Linked DNA regions of Homo sapiens: all the other regions are linked to region 3. The links are contacts of gene promoters, found by promoter capture Hi-C in blood cells and fetal thymus (Javierre and others, 2016). All regions are on one chromosome and are shown on one strand. The core of a region is centred on a gene start or on the middle of the fragment in contact, and the rest is flanking DNA. Distances in the headings are between cores, read along the strand shown. Region 1 holds the start of PRKCZ (protein kinase C zeta). Region 2 overlaps PRKCZ (protein kinase C zeta). Region 3 holds the start of CALML6 (calmodulin like 6). Region 4 overlaps PRKCZ (protein kinase C zeta).

Region 1 (4,080 bases), core at 1,387-3,886, 140 kb before region 3:
AGCGTGGGAGTCTGGCCCAGGCCACCTGGGACTCCCTGAAAACACAGGTGCCTGGGGACCCCTCAGGCCCACAGGGGGCGGGGTGGGGTGGCGAGGATTGGATCTCAAGTGTGCTCAGAGGGCCCTGGGAGGACAGGCAAGGATGACGGGGTGGCCATGCCCCATGGGGGTGACTGAAGTGCTCTTCCTTTTTCTAAAGACTAGTCTTCCACGTGTCCACGCTCAGCTACCCCCACGGACAGCAGCGTCTCACCCCAGGGACAGAGTTTCTAGGGCTTTCAATAACCCAGTACTCATCCTGGCAGCCGCTTTCTGGAACTGTGTCATTGCCCTAAGGCCTGAGTGTCCCACCCCACAGCCAGTCCCCTCAGAGAGGCACCGGGTGCCCAGAGGGACGAGGAGCCAGAACGGGGAGAAGGGTACTTCACACTCTGCAGCAGAGAGGAGGAGGACCTGGGAGGGGAGAGAGGAGAGAAGGAATGGTAGGAGCAGGGAAGAGCCAGAGGGGAGACGTGCCCTAGAAGGGGGAGGAAGGTGAAGGAAGAGGTGTGGCAGGGAAGGGAGAGAGGGGAGAGCGGGAAGAGGAGGGAAAACAACAGGGAAGGAGGGAGGAAGAGGAAGGGGTGGGGAGAGAGGGGAGAGAGTCCGGGAAGGGAGGGAAGAGGAAGGGGTGGGAGCCTGGTCTCTCCAGCCTGGGAAACCAGAGTCACCGGGTGGAATTACACCCGCCCCACCACCAAAGTGCTCCCAGGGGCCAAAGCAAGGCAGAGGGAGGACGGGGCGGCCCAGAACTCCAGTGGCATTGCCTCCGAGCCTTGGTCCCAGGAATTGGACGCCGGAATGCAGGAGGGTCTGGGCCCCTGCAGCCCCTCGGGTGTGGACCTCCCTCTCGCAGGACTCCCCTGAGCTCCGCACCATCACCTGTTGCCCAGTGTGGTGGCTCCAGAATGGCAAGGAGACAGGAAGCCCAGGTCCCTGGACAAGTCCAATAGCCAGAACGTCAACCATACCAAGTTTTAACCTGCTGACCTCCAGGCCAAAAGACATGGCTGCCCTACCTCTTCAGGTAGGGCTGGACGGTCAGTCCCCCAGAAATCCCTTTCTTCTGGTTCTGGCACCAAACCCGGGCCACTGCACCCCGAAGGTTCCAGGTGCTTGCCACAGGGGAGCTGCAGAGGCCCCAACCTTCCCAAAGAAGAGACAATTGAGCCTCCTCAACAAACCCGGGGCCAAGCAGCCCCAGATGGCTGACCCGAGACCCCAAGACAAGGTTCGCAGGAAGCTGAACCCGCTCAGACTCGCAGGGCACCATAGAGACCCCCGGGGCACTGTCCTGAGAGGACGTGGCCCGGGGAAGTTGTCACCCGCCTAACCCTGCCGGCCGTCCCTGCCTCTGGGGCTCAGGTTGCCCACGCTGTAGCTGAGGACGCACCGGGGCAGGAGCAGCTTTTCGAGATCCCAAGGACCAGCCAGTGCAAGTCCGGAGCCCGCATTCTGCTCCCCTCCCTCTCTGCAGCAGCAGCCACCCTCGCGGGAGCGGAGGTCCCAGTTCGGGGCTCCTGGAGACGCGCACAGGTGGAAGAACAAACCCACGGGTCCTCCCCTCCCCACCGCCCACACTTCGGGGGGCAGCGACCCCTCCGCTGTGCCTGTGAGCCCGGCCACCTGGTGCAGCCCCCGCCACCCCCAGCAGCGCTGCCCCGAGGCGGCGGCCAAGAGTCCAGGACCCCTCCGCTCCAGCACCTGACCGCGCCCCCTCCCACAGCCAGGCAAGGGCCTCCGGGGGGCGGGTGCGACGCAAACCCCAGGGTCAGTCTCGGCCCCACCGTCTCCTCCAGAAACCCCTGTCCCCGCCCGACCGCCCCGAGCCCTGCCGGGGGCTGCATTGGAGCCACAGCGCCCGCGCCCCGGGTCTCCGGATTTTGGCTAAAGCGAGACCCCCGACCGGGTAAACGTGGAGAACGTTTAGGAAACGCTGATTTTAAGAAACCCGCCAGGAGTTTTCACAACTTGATGAAAACTTTCAGTCCTTACAGGTTTGCGGCCGGAACGTCCCCGCCCAACTTTCCAGCGAAAACGTCTACCACAATGACCGGGCCGAGGAGCTCGCGGCGCGGGGCCGACCCCAGGGAAACCCGGTCCCGGGGAAGGAGCCCGCGCTGTCCACGACGTGTCCGCGGGTGACGCTCACGGGCGGGGACCGAGGACCTCCCGCGACAGCCCCGGGCCCGCAGCGACCTCGCCGCCCCTTCCCTCTCTCCCTCTCGCGCAGGAGCCCCGACGGCTGAGCCCTCCCCGCCCTCCCTGCCTCACCCGCGCCGCTCCCCGCCCTCTCCGCCGCTCACCCCCCGTAATGCGCCTTGAGGCGGACGCGGCCGCCGCTCCCTTCCATCTTGGGGCCGGTCCTGCTGGGCATGGCGCGCTCCCCCCGCCGCCGTCAGCGCTGCGCCCCGGGAGCTCCGGCCATGGCGCGGGGCGGGGGCTCCAGGTGGGGCCGCGGCGGAACGCGGAAGGCAGCGCTCAGGACCGACGGCGCCGACCCGGTCAACTCCGCGGAACTCCGGCGGCGCGCGGGGCGGGAGCGGGGGGCGCGCGGGGCGGGACCGTCCGGCGGGGGCGGGGGGCGGTGTCCGAACATGGCGGACCGAGGTGGAGCCAGCGGCCAATCCGCGGGGCGGGCGGTCCCGGGGCGGGCGGTGGCACCTGCGGCCAATGAGGGCGAGGCGGGGCCGCCACCTGGGCCAATCCTCGGGGGACACCCGGCCGCGGCCCAATGGCGAGGCGCGGGCGGGGCTACCTGTCGGGCGGGGCTACCTGTTGGGCGGGGCGCGGCGCACCTGCGCCAATGGGACCGCGCGCGGCGCGGCTCTGCCCGGCAACCGGAGGGGCCCCGGCCTCTGGGACGGAGCGGCGCCCCCGGGAACTCGCTGGAAACGCGAGTTCTCGGCCTTCGCCCAGACCCTCCGAATCGAAACTCCTGCGGCGCGCGCTGCCAGCCCGAGGGCCCCGCCGTCCAGGGGTCCCCTGACATCTCACACTTGCGGACTGAAGCTGCGAGGAGCGGAGAACCCGGCCAGGGTCACGGACGGGAGCGTCCGGACTCGGGTTCTCTGGGCCCCAGCCCCCACTCCGCCCCCAGCGAATCCAAGGTCCCCTGTAGGGAAGGGCCGTCCACACTCGTGAGTGCAACCGCTCACTTCGCCCAGGTCAAGGACGCGGCATTGGCCCGAGTCGCCCATGACCTTCATTTCTGAAGCCACAGCCTCTCGGGCCTTACTCGAGGGGCTTGATCTGGACAATCGCCCTCCAGGCCCCTCCACCGCCGCCCAGCTCCCTGCCTCCTGGGCTCCTCCCCTGAAAATACGGTTTTCCCTGATCAGCCCATCCCTTACTGGCTGCATCCACTGAAGCCCAGACCTGCTGCCTGCAGGACCTCACCCAGGCACCAGGTGGACACCCAGACCCAGTTCCTGGCCTCGGCCCCTCTCCCCTGAGAGTGGACCTGCTCAGGCCACGCCCTCACACCCCTCACCCAGACACAGCCACCAGGACTTCAGCCACGTGCTTTCATCCCGCAGGTCGTGCCTGGCGCCTCCTTGATGCCAGGCCCTGGGGAGACCTGTGGCCACAGAACCCATGTTCTCCCTGGAGATGGACAGGAGGCCCCTCTCCTACGCAGAAGCTGTCGTTTTTTCTTCTTAAACACCGTTTGCCCCTCCCTCCACCCACCGAGCCATCTCTGCCCCTCTCTACAGCAAAGCTTCCGCCAAGCCGGCCCTGCTCCCTGTCTACCTCTCCTGCCACCACCCACTCACACGTTTTAAATACAAGCCGTCGGTTCTCAGACGTTTTCTCTTTTTTTCTTTCTTTTTCTTTTTTTTGAGATGGAGTTTCGCTCTTGCTGCCCAGGCTGAGTGCAATGGCATGATGTCGGCTCACTGCAACTTCTGCCTCCTGGGTTCAAACCATTCTCCTGCCTCAGTCTCCCAAGTAGCTGGGATTACAGGTGTCCACCACCATGCCCAGCTGATTTTTGTATTTTTAGTAGAGACGGGGTTTTTCCATATTGGCCAGGCTGGT
Region 2 (4,050 bases), core at 241-2,740, 240 kb before region 3:
TGGGGCACTGGGGCCTGGTCACCACAAGCCTCGTCCACACGCACAGGAAGCTTGGAATTTACCCCAGAAGCAACTGGGGAGGAGGAATCAGAGGAGCTTTGAGGCAGGAAAAAGACTTCAGATCTGTGTTTCTCAAATATGGCTCAGGCCCAACATGGGGAAGCCAACACTGGGGAGCCCTGGGGTCAGGTGGGGAGGGTGGGGGACCCTGAAACACACTTAGGAGGCGTAAGCAGCCAGAAAACAGGAACCCTTGACCAGGACGGCACCGCACGTAGAGCAGGTCGGGGAACGGCCGGGTCACGCCGGCTCTTCCGACAGACAGAGGTGGCTGCCAAGCACAGGCAAGAGCAGGACCCTGCGGTCAGGAGAGCCAAGAGTGCAGCGGAGGAGAGCAAGTCGCCAGATGTACAGCTAAGAACCGAGCAGCAGAGGGTTGCACCCAGGGCCTAGGACCGCTGTGCTTAGGAAGCCTGGCCCGCAAAGCTGGCCCGGAGCTGGGGCTGGGAACGTGAACTGCAAACAGTTCCCTACACGGATATAACATGCTTCTGCATGACCGCCAGGCAGAGTGGTGGACACCTGTAATCCCAGCACTTTGGGAGGCTGAGGCAGGAGCCCAGGAGTTTGAGACCAGCCTGGGGCGACAGAGCAAGACCCTATCTTTATTTAAAAAAAAAAAAAAAAAAACTCTGGAGGCGGGGCTCAGTCACTCATGCCTGTAATCCCAACACTTTGGGAGGCTGCAGAGGGCAGATGGCTTGAGGTCAGGAGTTCGAGACCCGCCTGGCCAACACAGAGTACTAAAAATACAAAAATTAGCCAGGTGTGGTGGCAGGTGCTTGTAATCCCAGCTACTCAGGAGGCTGAGGCAGGAGAATTGCTTGAACCCAGGAGGTGGTGACTGCAGTGAGCCAAGATGTTGCCACTGCACTCCAGCCTGGGTGATAGAGCGAGACTCCATCTCAAAAACAAGAAAAGCACATTAAAAAAAAAAAGCTTTGGAATAAGAGCTGCTTGCTGTGCCCAAACTGTGTGTGCCTGAACAGGATGCCTTATGCTCGTGATGGTGAATTCAACGGTCACCTTGACTGGGCACGGGACGCCCTAGTAGCTGGCTGTACATGACTTCCGGGCATGCCTGTTGAGGGGGCTTCTGGAAGAGTAAGCAGACGGCCCTCCCTGAAGTAGACTGGCATCATCCAGGCCCCTGGGGACGTGAAGAGAACAAGAAGGAGGAGGAAGGCTGCGTTTCCCTGACTACCGAGCTATCCACCTTCTGGCCCCCTTGCTCCTAGCTCTGAGGCCTTCAGACCCGGACTGGAAGCGACCCCATCAGCTCCTGGCTCTCAGGCCTTCAAGCTGTGCCACTGGCTCTCCTGGGCCTCCAGCCTGCAGATGGCGGATTATAGGATTTCTCAGCCTCCATAATCCCATGAACCAGTATCTTATAATAAATCTCTTTACACACACACACACACGTGCACACAACTGGTTCTGTTTCTCAGGAGAACCCTGACTAACGCAATGCTGAACACCTGCTCTCCACTGGGAGTCTGGAATTTTGGTTCGTGTGCAGCCTGCATGACCAGCCCTTGACAAAAACCATGAGTTGTCACAATTCATTGCTGGAGGAACTGGGAGAGGGCTCTTGGGAGCTTGTGACTGGTTTCTTCTGGAATTTTCCCCATGTGCCTTTTTCCTTGGCCAAGTCTCCTTTATCTCCCCAGTGCAGTATGCCAGCTGTGGCCCCCAGTGCGGCCATGATTGATCCCAGCAGTCCTCCTAGCCAATCATCGAACCTGGGGATGGTCTTGAGGACTCAATGCAGAACATACTTAATAACTCTTCAAATAAACAAATCAGGTAGGTCAAAGTCAACTGGCCCCCAAAATTTTAAACAGGGCATACATTTAATATCCTAGATCATCAGCTTTCAAATGTATTCAAAGCCACAGAATTCCAGTATATATAAAGCTTGAAGGTGAAGCTGTACATATTTTAATAAGCACAGAAATCCACCTCTTTTGCTTACTTTTGTAGCCCCAGCACCTGACCCAATGCCTGCACTCAGTGGGATACCTCCAGTAAGTATTTCGTAAATGGAATTAAATAACTTCAGATCATGAAATGTACTTAATATGACACCAACCAAGGAGAACAACAAAGAGAGTCTGCTGGCCTGAAAACACCCGTACAGCAACTGGGAGAACCTTACAGGTGACAGTTGACACATCACACCAGACTTAGCTTCTGTGCAGTTCACATCTGAAATCTGCAGAATATCAGAAATACCCTTCTTTTTCTTACCGACTTGTCGTCTGGAAGCAGGAGTGTAATCCGACCAGGAAGGGGTTGCTGGATGCCTGCTCAAACACGTGCTTCTCTGTCTGTACCCAGTCAATATCCTGAAATAGAAACCAGGGAGTGGTAATGAGGCTCCCGAATGCTCCTCACAGGCATCCTGGGCAAGGGGGAGGCAAGGGAGGAGTCTCTTTCCTCCGCTTTCAGGAAGACAATGCAGACAGGAAAAGAAAACACCCATTAGGAACTGCATTACCACCATTGTCACCATCCACCCCACCTCTACCACCACCACCACCATCATCATCATTGTCACTGTCATCATCACCACCGTCACACCACTGTCACCATACACCCTACCCCCACCCCCCACTATCATCGTCACTGTCACCATTACCGTCATCATTGTCACCATCCCTCCCACCTCCACCCACCACCATCATTGTTGCTGTCACCATCACCTTCACCACCACTGTCATCATCACCGTCACTGTCATCATCACCACCACCGTCATCACCATCTGCATCATCACTGTCATCACCATCACCACCACCACCATCACCATTGGCACCATCTACCCCCACCACCATCACTGTCGCTGTTACCATCACCTTCATCACCACCGTCATCATCACCATCACCACCACCATCATCACCATCACAACCGTCACTGTCATCACCACTGCCATCATCACCGTCATCACCATCTCCATCATCACCACTGTCATCACCATCATCACCGTCATCACCACCATTGTCATCACCACTACCATCATCACTGTCATCACCACCATTGTCATCACCACTACCATCATCATCACCACCACCGTCATCCTCAATGTCATCACTACCACCACCATCACAGTCATCGCCATCACCATCATCACCGCCATCATCAACATCTTCATCACCACCACCACGTCATCACCACTACCTCACCATCATCACCATCATCACCATCATCGTCACCATCATTGTCACCATCATCATCACCATCATCTTCACCACGATCACCAAAGCTACCAGCTCTGGTTGTATGCTGGCCTCTGGTGGTATACTGGCCTCTGGCCTCCAGGCTTTGCCCTAACAGTTCCAGGAGGCAGGTATTATTATCTCCAGTTAGGACACAAGGAAATTGAGGTGGAGGGCTAAGCAGATTCCCCAAGGTCCCAGCGCTACCGAGTGATAAGCCCACACCCATCACCAGAGCACTAGCTTCAGCCATAGGACTGTCACCCTCCCAATTCATGCTGCAGTTCAGCAAAATGCTGCAAGGTCAAAGTCAACTTTAGAGTGACAAAGATCCAACAGCTTGGTCTCATCTTGACCCCAGAAAGTAGAGCTGGACGAAGTTCTCAAGCCTTCCTAGGTCAACCCCTTGTCTTCGGGGTTAGAAAAATGACAGTGAAAGAAATGCGTCAAAATAGGCTGGATCACAGGGGTGCGATTACTGCTCACTGCAGCCTCGACCTCTGGAGCTCCAGCGATCCTCCCACCTCAGCCTCCAGAGGAGCTGGGACTACAGATACATGCCACACTTGGCAATTTTATTTTTTGTAGAGGCAGGGTCTTACTGTGTTGCCTGCCCCCACTCCCGGAAGTTTCGTGGAAACAAATCAACAAACCATTAGTGAGTATCTATTTAGCCTCTGAGACTGTGTCATTCCTCCTCAGCGCCCTCCTCCTCCTCGAGGCTTGGTCCTCGGCCACCCTCCCTTCTCTTCGGAGGCAGATCCAATGGAGTG
Region 3 (3,872 bases), core at 180-2,679:
TCCCCCCGTAGGCACTGACACCTGACCCAGGGCCCCCCCGAGGCTGCCCACCCCACTCCAGCCATGAGCTCACTGTCTCTGTCCACATCCTTGGCCATTGAGGCCAGCTCACTCTTGGTGGGGTTGATACCCAGCAGGCTCATGAGCCACTCCAGCTCCCCCGTCTTCACCTCCCCGTTGCCCTCTTCGTCGAACATCTCAAAGACTCCCTTGTACTCCTTGATCTGCTCAGCCGACAGGCGCTCTGTCTGCAGGGGACACCCGCACCGGCCTGACCAGGAGCCCCTTCTGCCCCTGTGTCCAGGGAAGGGTCAGAGGTACCCCCTGCACCCATTCCTCCATTGGCAGCCTTTCAAGGTGAGTGGTAAGAGAGGAGGCCCCCAGCGGAGAGCAGGCTTCCAGGACAAGGGGTCACACGCCAGGGGTTTGCAGGGCCAGCAGGGCTCTGCCAGGCAGCTAACAGGGGCAAGGGCCAGACAGGCAGGAGCCAGCGTGCGAGGGAACAGCAGCAGCTGCAGGGCCAGGCGGGCCAGGCAGCGGCCCTGGAGCCTGGCAATGGACACCAGGTGAGGCAGGTGAAGGAAGCCGAGAGCAGGGTGGGGAGGAGCCCAGCCCTGGCCCGGGAAAGGCTTCCAGCCCAGGATTGGGATACAGCCCAGGAAGCAGAACCCTGGGCTCCAGCCTGTGTGGCATTCCGGAGGGAGAGTCCAGCACCGGGCCACACCTGCCTGCCACCACTGCTGCTGCCCATCTGGGAGCCAGCTTTCAGAAAGGGCTGCTCCACCCTGGCCCCGGAACAAGGGCTGTGTTGGTGGCAGCAGGGCTTGGCCCCCTCTTCTACCTCAGCCCCTTCCTGCCCAGGCTCCGTGGCAGGTCATTGCACCTCCAGGTTCCAGCTCAACCTACCCAGCCAGCCCACCAGAGACTCCATCGGGCACAGAGAGCAGCCTTACCATGTCGGTGGTTGTCTGACAGGATTCTGCAGGGTGGTGACACCAGGGCTGCTGTGGGCAGAGTGCTGGGGCAGTGGTGGCAGCTGAGTTTTAGCTGGGCCTGGCTGCCTGGGGTCCCCGGGGTCCAGATTCCAAGAGCCTTTTATGGGTGGGAAATCCTGCCGGCCCTATTTTGGGACAGGCTCTCGGCCTTATCCACAGGGCCCCTTCCCGGCCCGCTTTGGCCTGGGCTTCCCCTGACCCTGAAGATGGGCACCGAAGGCTAAGTGCGGGGGCCAGGAAAGGGCTGAGACATGGCGGGACCCTCACACACGCTGTTCCCCGTGCTGTTCCCTCTTCACTGGACCAAGCTCCAAGTCTACCTTCCCAGAGGTGCGGCCCTCCAGCAGGTCTTCATGGGACCCTGGTCCCATGCTGTCATCACTTACCAGTGAGATTTCTTGTTGAAGACCCATCCTGGCCAGCTGGTGCTCAGTGGCTCAGAGCCTGGCCACCCTCCCATCCTGGTGGACTCAACATTGGCCCCGTGCCAGCATGTCACAAACTCTCAGGACAGGTCGAATGAACAAATGCATGAGGCACCGCTTGACCATCTTGTACAGGAGGGGCTGAGGGTCCACCATTCAGGGAGGAGACAGCAGGACATGGGCTGGGGGTGAAGGGGGAAAGGGAGCAAAACAGGGCCTGGGGGCTGGGCTGCCCGCTGGAAGCCAGGCACAGTTGGGGGCTATTTTGGGGTTTCTCAGGGAAACCTGATCTCCCTTCCACTCAGAACAGCAAAGCTGGCTCCCGAGGGGGCCTGGTGCCCAGGCTGGTCCGTATCAACATGCCACCGTGGAGCACACGCCTGCACACGTGTGTTCCCTCCTCAGACCCGCACTGAGCCCTCCCTGTCTGGGTCTAATTACCCACCAGACTCCCAAAGCCAGGGTCCAGCTCCTCCCTGCCCCACCCAGGCAAGAGTGTGAGGATTGCAGTGGCAGGTCAGGGCCCTCAGGGTCACACTCACACCTGCCCCCCGACTGGCCCCTTGATGGCATGAAGAGTCTGAGCAGGTGGGGCACTCAGTGTCCCCCGCCAGCCCAACCCTCTGCCTGCCAGCAAACCTGCAGCTACAGGATGGCTCCCGCTGAAACCCAGGCCAGCTGCTGAGACTGCAAGATTGACGCTGACGAGGGCAGGCCAATGGCCCAGGGCACCTCCAGCCAAACGGGAGCCGGGGCTGGAGGGAAGCGGCCCTGGGTCTGGTGGGGCCAAGGGAGGCCCTGACCTTCATCCTGGCTGCTCCCTGGCCTCAGCTTTCCCCTGGGCTGGGGCAGGGAACAATTCACGCACTGAGCACCTTCCCCCAGGGGCATAGAATGGAGGGAGCCGCAGCACCCAGGCCAGGGCCCATCCTGGGTTCTGGCTCAGGGTCTCCAGGTACAGGCCAGCTGGGTACAGAGACACAGAGAACTGCACTGGCCTCGTGGCCCTGGACAAGTCCCCACCCCAACAACTCTCACAGCCAGTGGACAGCAGGCTCTGCCTCCTCCGTTCCCAGGCTTCCAGCGTCTGACATTCCTGGGCCACAGCCCTGAAGGTTCCAGACATCCTGATGGGCTTACGAGTGAAACTCAAAGCTGTGACCCCTGGAGCCCAACTTAAAGCAGAGGGCACACCCCCCGCCCCGCCCGTAGGAAGGGGCAACATGGCCACAACCACCATCAACCTCTCTCCTCTCCATCTAGGCTTCTACCCATATCCAAGACCCAGTACAAGCAGCAGAACAGGTCCTCGCCCTCTAACCCTCTCTCCTCATGCTGACCAGCCTCTGTGTGGCCTTCGGACATACCCCGTATCTCTAGGACCTGAGACTCATCCAATCTTTATTTTCCTTCTTGTGTCTCTTCTGATCACCGAAGGGCTATTCTCCATAAGAAAACAGAAAAAGAGGCTGGGCACGGTGGCTCACGCCTGTAATCCCAGCACTTTGGGAGGCTGAGGCGGGCAGATCACGAGGTCAGGAGATCGAGACCATCCTGGCTAACACAGTGAAACCCCGACTGTACTAAAAAAAATACAAAAAAATTAGCCAGGCGTGGTGGTAGACACCTGTAGTCCCAGCTTCTCCGGAGGCTGAGGCAGGAGAATGGCGTGAACCCAGGAGGCAGACCTTGCAGTGAGGCGAGATCGCGCCACTGCACTCCAGCCTGGGCAACAGAGCGAGACTCCATCTCAAAAAAAAAAAAGAAAAGAAAAGAAAACAGAAAAAGAGAAAAACCCTGTAACAATTAGAATGCTGCCTCAGCCACGTTCAGGTGCAAGTGCAGTTGTGTTCATGGCCGTACCCAGTTATGCAGCAGATCTCTAGAACCTTTCACCTTGCAAAACGGACCCCCGCCCCCATTAAACAGCATCTGCCCTCTTCCACCACCCCCCGCCCCCCAGCCTATGGCAATCACTATTCTACTTTCTGTTTTTAAGAATTCGACTCCGGGGGCCGGGTGTGGTGGCTCACGCCTGTAATCCCAGCACTTTGGGAGGCCGAGGTGGGTGGATCACAAGGTCAGGAGTTCAAGACCAGCCTGGCCAAGATGGTTACACCCTGTTTCTACTAAAAAAAATAAAAAAATAAAAAAATTAGCCGGGCGTGGTGGCAGGTGCCTGTAATCCCAGCTACTCAGGAGGCTGAGGCAGAGAATTGCTTGAACCTGGGAGGTGGAGGATGCAGTGAGCCGAGATTGCGCCACTGCACCCCAGCCCGGGTGACAGAGTGAGACTCCATCTCCAAAAAAAAAAAAAAGAATTCGACTTTTTTTTTTTTTTTTTTTTTGAGGCAGAGTCCCGCTCTATCTCCAGGCTGGAGTGCAGTGGCGCGATCTCAGCTCACTGCAACCTCTGCCTCCCAGGTCAAGCAATTCTCTTGCCTCAGCCTCC
Region 4 (4,169 bases), core at 910-3,409, 200 kb before region 3:
GGGCAACAAGAGTGACACTCCATCTCAAAAAAAAAAAAAAAAAAGGAAAAAATAAGAATTAAACTGTTATAAGGTTTTGAAGAAAATGGTAAAAGTAGTTTATGCTACGTTCCAAGGATGTGACTCATAATTTCTAAGGTAGCCATTAAAATAACATTAAGAGAAGTATTACTTAACAAAGCTATAATAATAAAGGGAGGAAAGTGGAATAAAAACATCTGATTAAACCAAAAGAAGGCAAGAAAGAGGGACAAAACAAAGAACAGACCGGACAAATAAGGACCCATAGCAAGATGACAAAGCTACAATGTAACACATCAGAATGACATTAAATGTAAACGGACTAAATCTTTCATTTAAAACACAGCCATTTTCAGACTGGATTAAAAATAACTAACTTCTGCTTTTAAGAGTCATTTCCAAAATATACAGAAAAGAAAGTGAAAGGATGAAAAAATAGAGCATATAAACACTAAGTCCCCTTCCCTCCCTCCCCTCATCTCACACACACACACACACACACACACACACACACACACACACAGAGCTGGTGTGGTCACACTAACATCATACAGATCAGATGTTAATGACAATAATATTTTCATCTAAAGAGCAACATTTGGCCGGGCACAGTGGCTCACGCCTGTAATCCCAGCACTTTGGGAGGCCGAAGCAGGCGGATCAGGAGGTCAGGAGATCGAGACCATCCTGGCTAACACGGTGAAACCTCGTCTCTACTAAAAATATAAAAAATTAGCTAGGCGCGGTGGCAGGCACCTGTAGTCCCAGCTACTCAGGAGGCTGAGGCAGGAGAATGGCGTGAACCCAGGAGGCAGAGCTTGCAGTGAGTGGAGATGGTGCCACTGCACTCCAGCCTGGGGGACAGAGCGACACTCTGTCTCAAAAAAAAAAAAACAAAAACATTTCATGATGATAAAAGCATCAATCAAAAGGAAGATATGGCCAGGCATGGTGGCTCACACCTGTAATCCCAGCACTTTGGGAGGCCAAGGCGGGCGGATCACCTAAGGTCAGGGGTTCAAGACCAGCTTGGCCAACATGGTGAAACCCTGTCTCTACTAAAAATACAAAAATTAACCAGGCGTGGTGGCACACACCTGTAATCCCAACTACTCAGGAGGCTCAGGCAGGAGAATCGCTTGAACCAGGGAGGCGGAGGTTGCAGTGCGCCCAGATCGGGCCACTGAACTCCACTCCAGCCTGGGTGACAGAGTGAGACTCCAAAAAAAAAAAAAAAAGAAATAATAGGCTAATCTCTCTCATAAATACAGTTGCAAAAACAACAAACAAAATAATAGCAAACTGAATCAAGCAAAATATAAAAAGGCGAACTCATCACAACCAAACGAGGCACACTACAGGAATGCCATCGGTCTACCATTAAGAGCCAATCCATAGAATTCATCGTATGAACAGAATAAAGGAGAAAAGTTCTGTCACATCAATAGATGAAGGAAAAAAAGCATCTGAAAAAATTCAGCACCATTCATATTAACAACTTTCAACTAGGAATAAAATAGAACCTCTTTAATTTGTTGGTGGGGATTTACGAAGGAAAAACAGTATTTCCGCAAACAGCACCCTTAATGGTGGAATTCTTAAAGCTTTTCCCTGAAATCAGGCACGAGAGGATGTGGCTGTCACCACTTCTGTCCCATACTGTTTTGGAAGGATCAACAGTGCCAGGGTAACAAGGCAACATCTGAAGGAAAGGCAGAAACAAACAGCCGGTCACTGACAAAATGGCAGCGCACAGAGAGGTTCCGGAGCAACCACAGACAAACTACGGGGACCAGGAGAGGCCAAGACAAATGAGTTAATCACACTTCTTTACACATTGCTATAAACAAAAAGATAAAAAAAAAAAAACTGTAAAAGTAATACGGCTTAAAACAGCATAAGCACTGAAATACCAGGGAATCATTTGAACAAAAAATGTGGATGACCGCTACACACAAGACTACAAAATATTATTGAAAGAATTTAAGGCCGGGTGCAGTGGCTTGCATCTGTAATCCCAGCACCTTAGGAGGCTGAGGCAGAAGGACCACTTGAGCCCAGGAGTTCAAGACCAGCCTGGGCAACATAGGGAGACCCTGTCTCTACAAAAAAATGCCAAAATAGCTGGGCATGGTGGTGCACACCTGTAGTCCCAGCTACTTGGGAGGCTGAGGTGGGAGGATTGCTTGAGCCCAGGAGGTCAAGGCTGCAGTGAGCCATGATCATGCCACTGCACTCCAGCCTGGGCAAGAGTGAGGTCCTGTCTGCCCCCCGCAACTCCCCTGCCAAAAAAACCCCAATCAAAGGCCTAAAGATATGTTCACGGATTGGAAACCTCAGTATTGTAAAGATGCTAATCTCCCATACTGATCAAGAAATCCAAATGCAATCCAAATGTCTTATGGAGATTTTGAAAGCAAATAAGCCAACTGTAAATGGCTTATTAACAAGCCCATGTGTATGGAAATGTAAAAAGCCAATAACCAAGATAACCTTGAAAACTAAAAACCCCAAATTGGAGACTCATAACACAAGTTACCAATGGTGATTATAAAGCAGAAGAAATCAGAACAGTACGACATGGGGGCAAAAAACAAAGGGGACAGATCAGTCCAGAAAGAGGCCCCACACACAGCCAGGACGCAAAAGCCCTAATTATAAAGTAAGCTTTTACTTTCTGTTCATCAGAAGACACCATCCATGGAGTGGAAGGCGAGCCGCGGAGTGACAGAAGCTGTTTGCAACACAAAAAATCAAAGCACTTGTCTCTAAAACACACACAGCCCCCAGGAACCAACAAAAAAGACGGACCCCCCAATGACATTGTTCTTTGACAGCCCAATTTTGAAATGGGGCAAAAGACTGGAACAGGCACCTTTAAAAGGAGGGTCCCCAATAACCCGGGAGCCTCGGAGAAGCAGCTCACCTCAGCCGTCGCGAGGCCACAGCCTAGTGCCTTTCAGATCTGCTGTGCTGGCGACAACGCAGGGCTCTGACAGTCCATGTGCTGGAAGGAGGTGCATCGGGAATTCCCACACGACCCAGAGTGACTGTGCCATCAACACAGATTCAGCCTTTGTCTCAGTTTCCCAGCGCGCAGCCCCTCTGACCCTAGGAATCCTGGAGTGCGGTAAGAGTGTCTTTTTGCATGCTAATGAGATGACGGGGAGCCGGGAGCCGGGACAGCTCCAGGATGCGGCTGGTCTTCAGCAGGACCAAGGAATGCCTAGCGGGTTGGAACTTTCCGTCCCACAGCCCACGGTCCAGAGAGGAGACAGGAGAGACTGAGGTAATCAGCAGTGGCTGGCTGTTGAATCAACCGTGCCTGTCACGAAGCCTCCACAAAAAGCCCTCAATGACATGGTCTGGAGAGTGTCCGAGTTGGTGAATATACCAAGGTGCTGGAGGGTGGCGTGCCTGGAGAGGGCACGGAAGCTCTGCACCCCCCATACCTCAGCCTCCCGTGCAGCTCCTCCGTGTGGCTGTCCTTTCTAATAAACGGGTACACTAAGCAAAGTGTTTTCCTGAGTTCCGGGAGCTATTCTAGCCCACCCGAGCCTCAGGAAGGGGTCACGGACACCCCCGATTCACAGCCAGTTGGTCAGAATCCAGGTTGTCACCTGGCACTTGCAGCTGGCTCTCAAGTAGGGGCAGGCTTGTGGGAATGAGCCCTTCATCTGCAGGGTCTGCGCTAACGTCAGGTAATTGATGTCAGAGCTGAATGGAAACACAGGACACCCAGCTGGCGCCAGAGTGGCTGTGGGTGCAGAAAACCCCACATAACTGGAGGCAGAAACACAGTGCAGAGTGCGACCTGGTGCGGCCACGCGAGGGAAACGTCTGTTTCCCGGAAACTCCACTCCTGGGTGTGCCCACATGAAAGATGCGCCACGGGCAACAGAAGGCGCTCGGATGTCTGTGGCCAAAAGCCGGGACCCCGGTGCCTCGCAAGATGAGGGTGGATACATAAGACGTGGAGAATTCAGCCAGCAGAGCAGCCCCGCAGTGGGGACGGACACGGCAGAACCGCACCCCACACCACGGGAAAGCCCCACACAGGGGCCCGACTGAGCGGCCACACCCAGGGTGGATGGCCCCGGATCCCAAGACAAAAGCTCGAAACAAGCAAAACTATCTGCAGGCACCAA

The links. The method cuts DNA at HindIII sites, captures the fragments that hold promoters and counts their contacts. A CHiCAGO score of 5 or more calls a contact.
Region 1: the fragment with the promoter of PRKCZ here is called in contact with the fragment with the promoter of CALML6 in region 3 in 1 of 17 cell types (endothelial precursors); the score reaches 5.3 in endothelial precursors.
Region 2: a fragment that was not itself captured here is called in contact with the fragment with the promoter of CALML6 in region 3 in 1 of 17 cell types (endothelial precursors); the score reaches 5.6 in endothelial precursors.
Region 4: a contact is called between a fragment that was not itself captured here and the fragment with the promoter of CALML6 in region 3, in 2 of 17 cell types (M1 macrophages and endothelial precursors). The highest score is 6.4, in M1 macrophages.

The regions. Positions count from the first base shown.
Region 1 is chr1:2,048,967-2,053,046 of GRCh38, reverse strand. It overlaps PRKCZ (protein kinase C zeta), which reads right to left and starts at 2,636. Exons shown (of 18, transcript NM_002744.6): 1 at 2,346-2,636. The coding sequence starts at 2,416. It overlaps PRKCZ-DT (PRKCZ divergent transcript), which reads left to right and starts at 2,977. Exons shown (of 3, transcript NR_135509.1): 1 at 2,977-3,179; 2 at 3,381-3,449; 3 at 3,579-3,846. RefSeq lists a silencer at 2,449-3,058. The HindIII fragment of the contact is 10,768 bases long and covers 1-3,762 here.
Region 2 is chr1:2,154,353-2,158,402 of GRCh38, reverse strand. PRKCZ (protein kinase C zeta) reads right to left here. Exons shown (of 18, transcript NM_002744.6): 10 at 2,311-2,408. Among named protein-coding and RNA genes, the nearest start is that of PRKCZ-AS1, 27 kb to the left of the region's middle. The HindIII fragment of the contact is 978 bases long and covers 1,002-1,979 here.
Region 3 is chr1:1,912,817-1,916,688 of GRCh38, reverse strand. It overlaps CALML6 (calmodulin like 6), which reads right to left and starts at 1,429. Exons shown (of 6, transcript NM_138705.4): 1 at 1,382-1,429; 2 at 954-1,004; 3 at 74-248. The coding sequence starts at 1,408. RefSeq lists an enhancer at 1,922-2,608. The HindIII fragment of the contact is 9,795 bases long and covers 1-3,872 here.
Region 4 is chr1:2,115,089-2,119,257 of GRCh38, reverse strand. The region is part of intron 4 of PRKCZ (protein kinase C zeta); the gene reads right to left. Among named protein-coding and RNA genes, the nearest start is that of PRKCZ-AS1, 67 kb to the left of the region's middle. The HindIII fragment of the contact is 1,063 bases long and covers 1,628-2,690 here.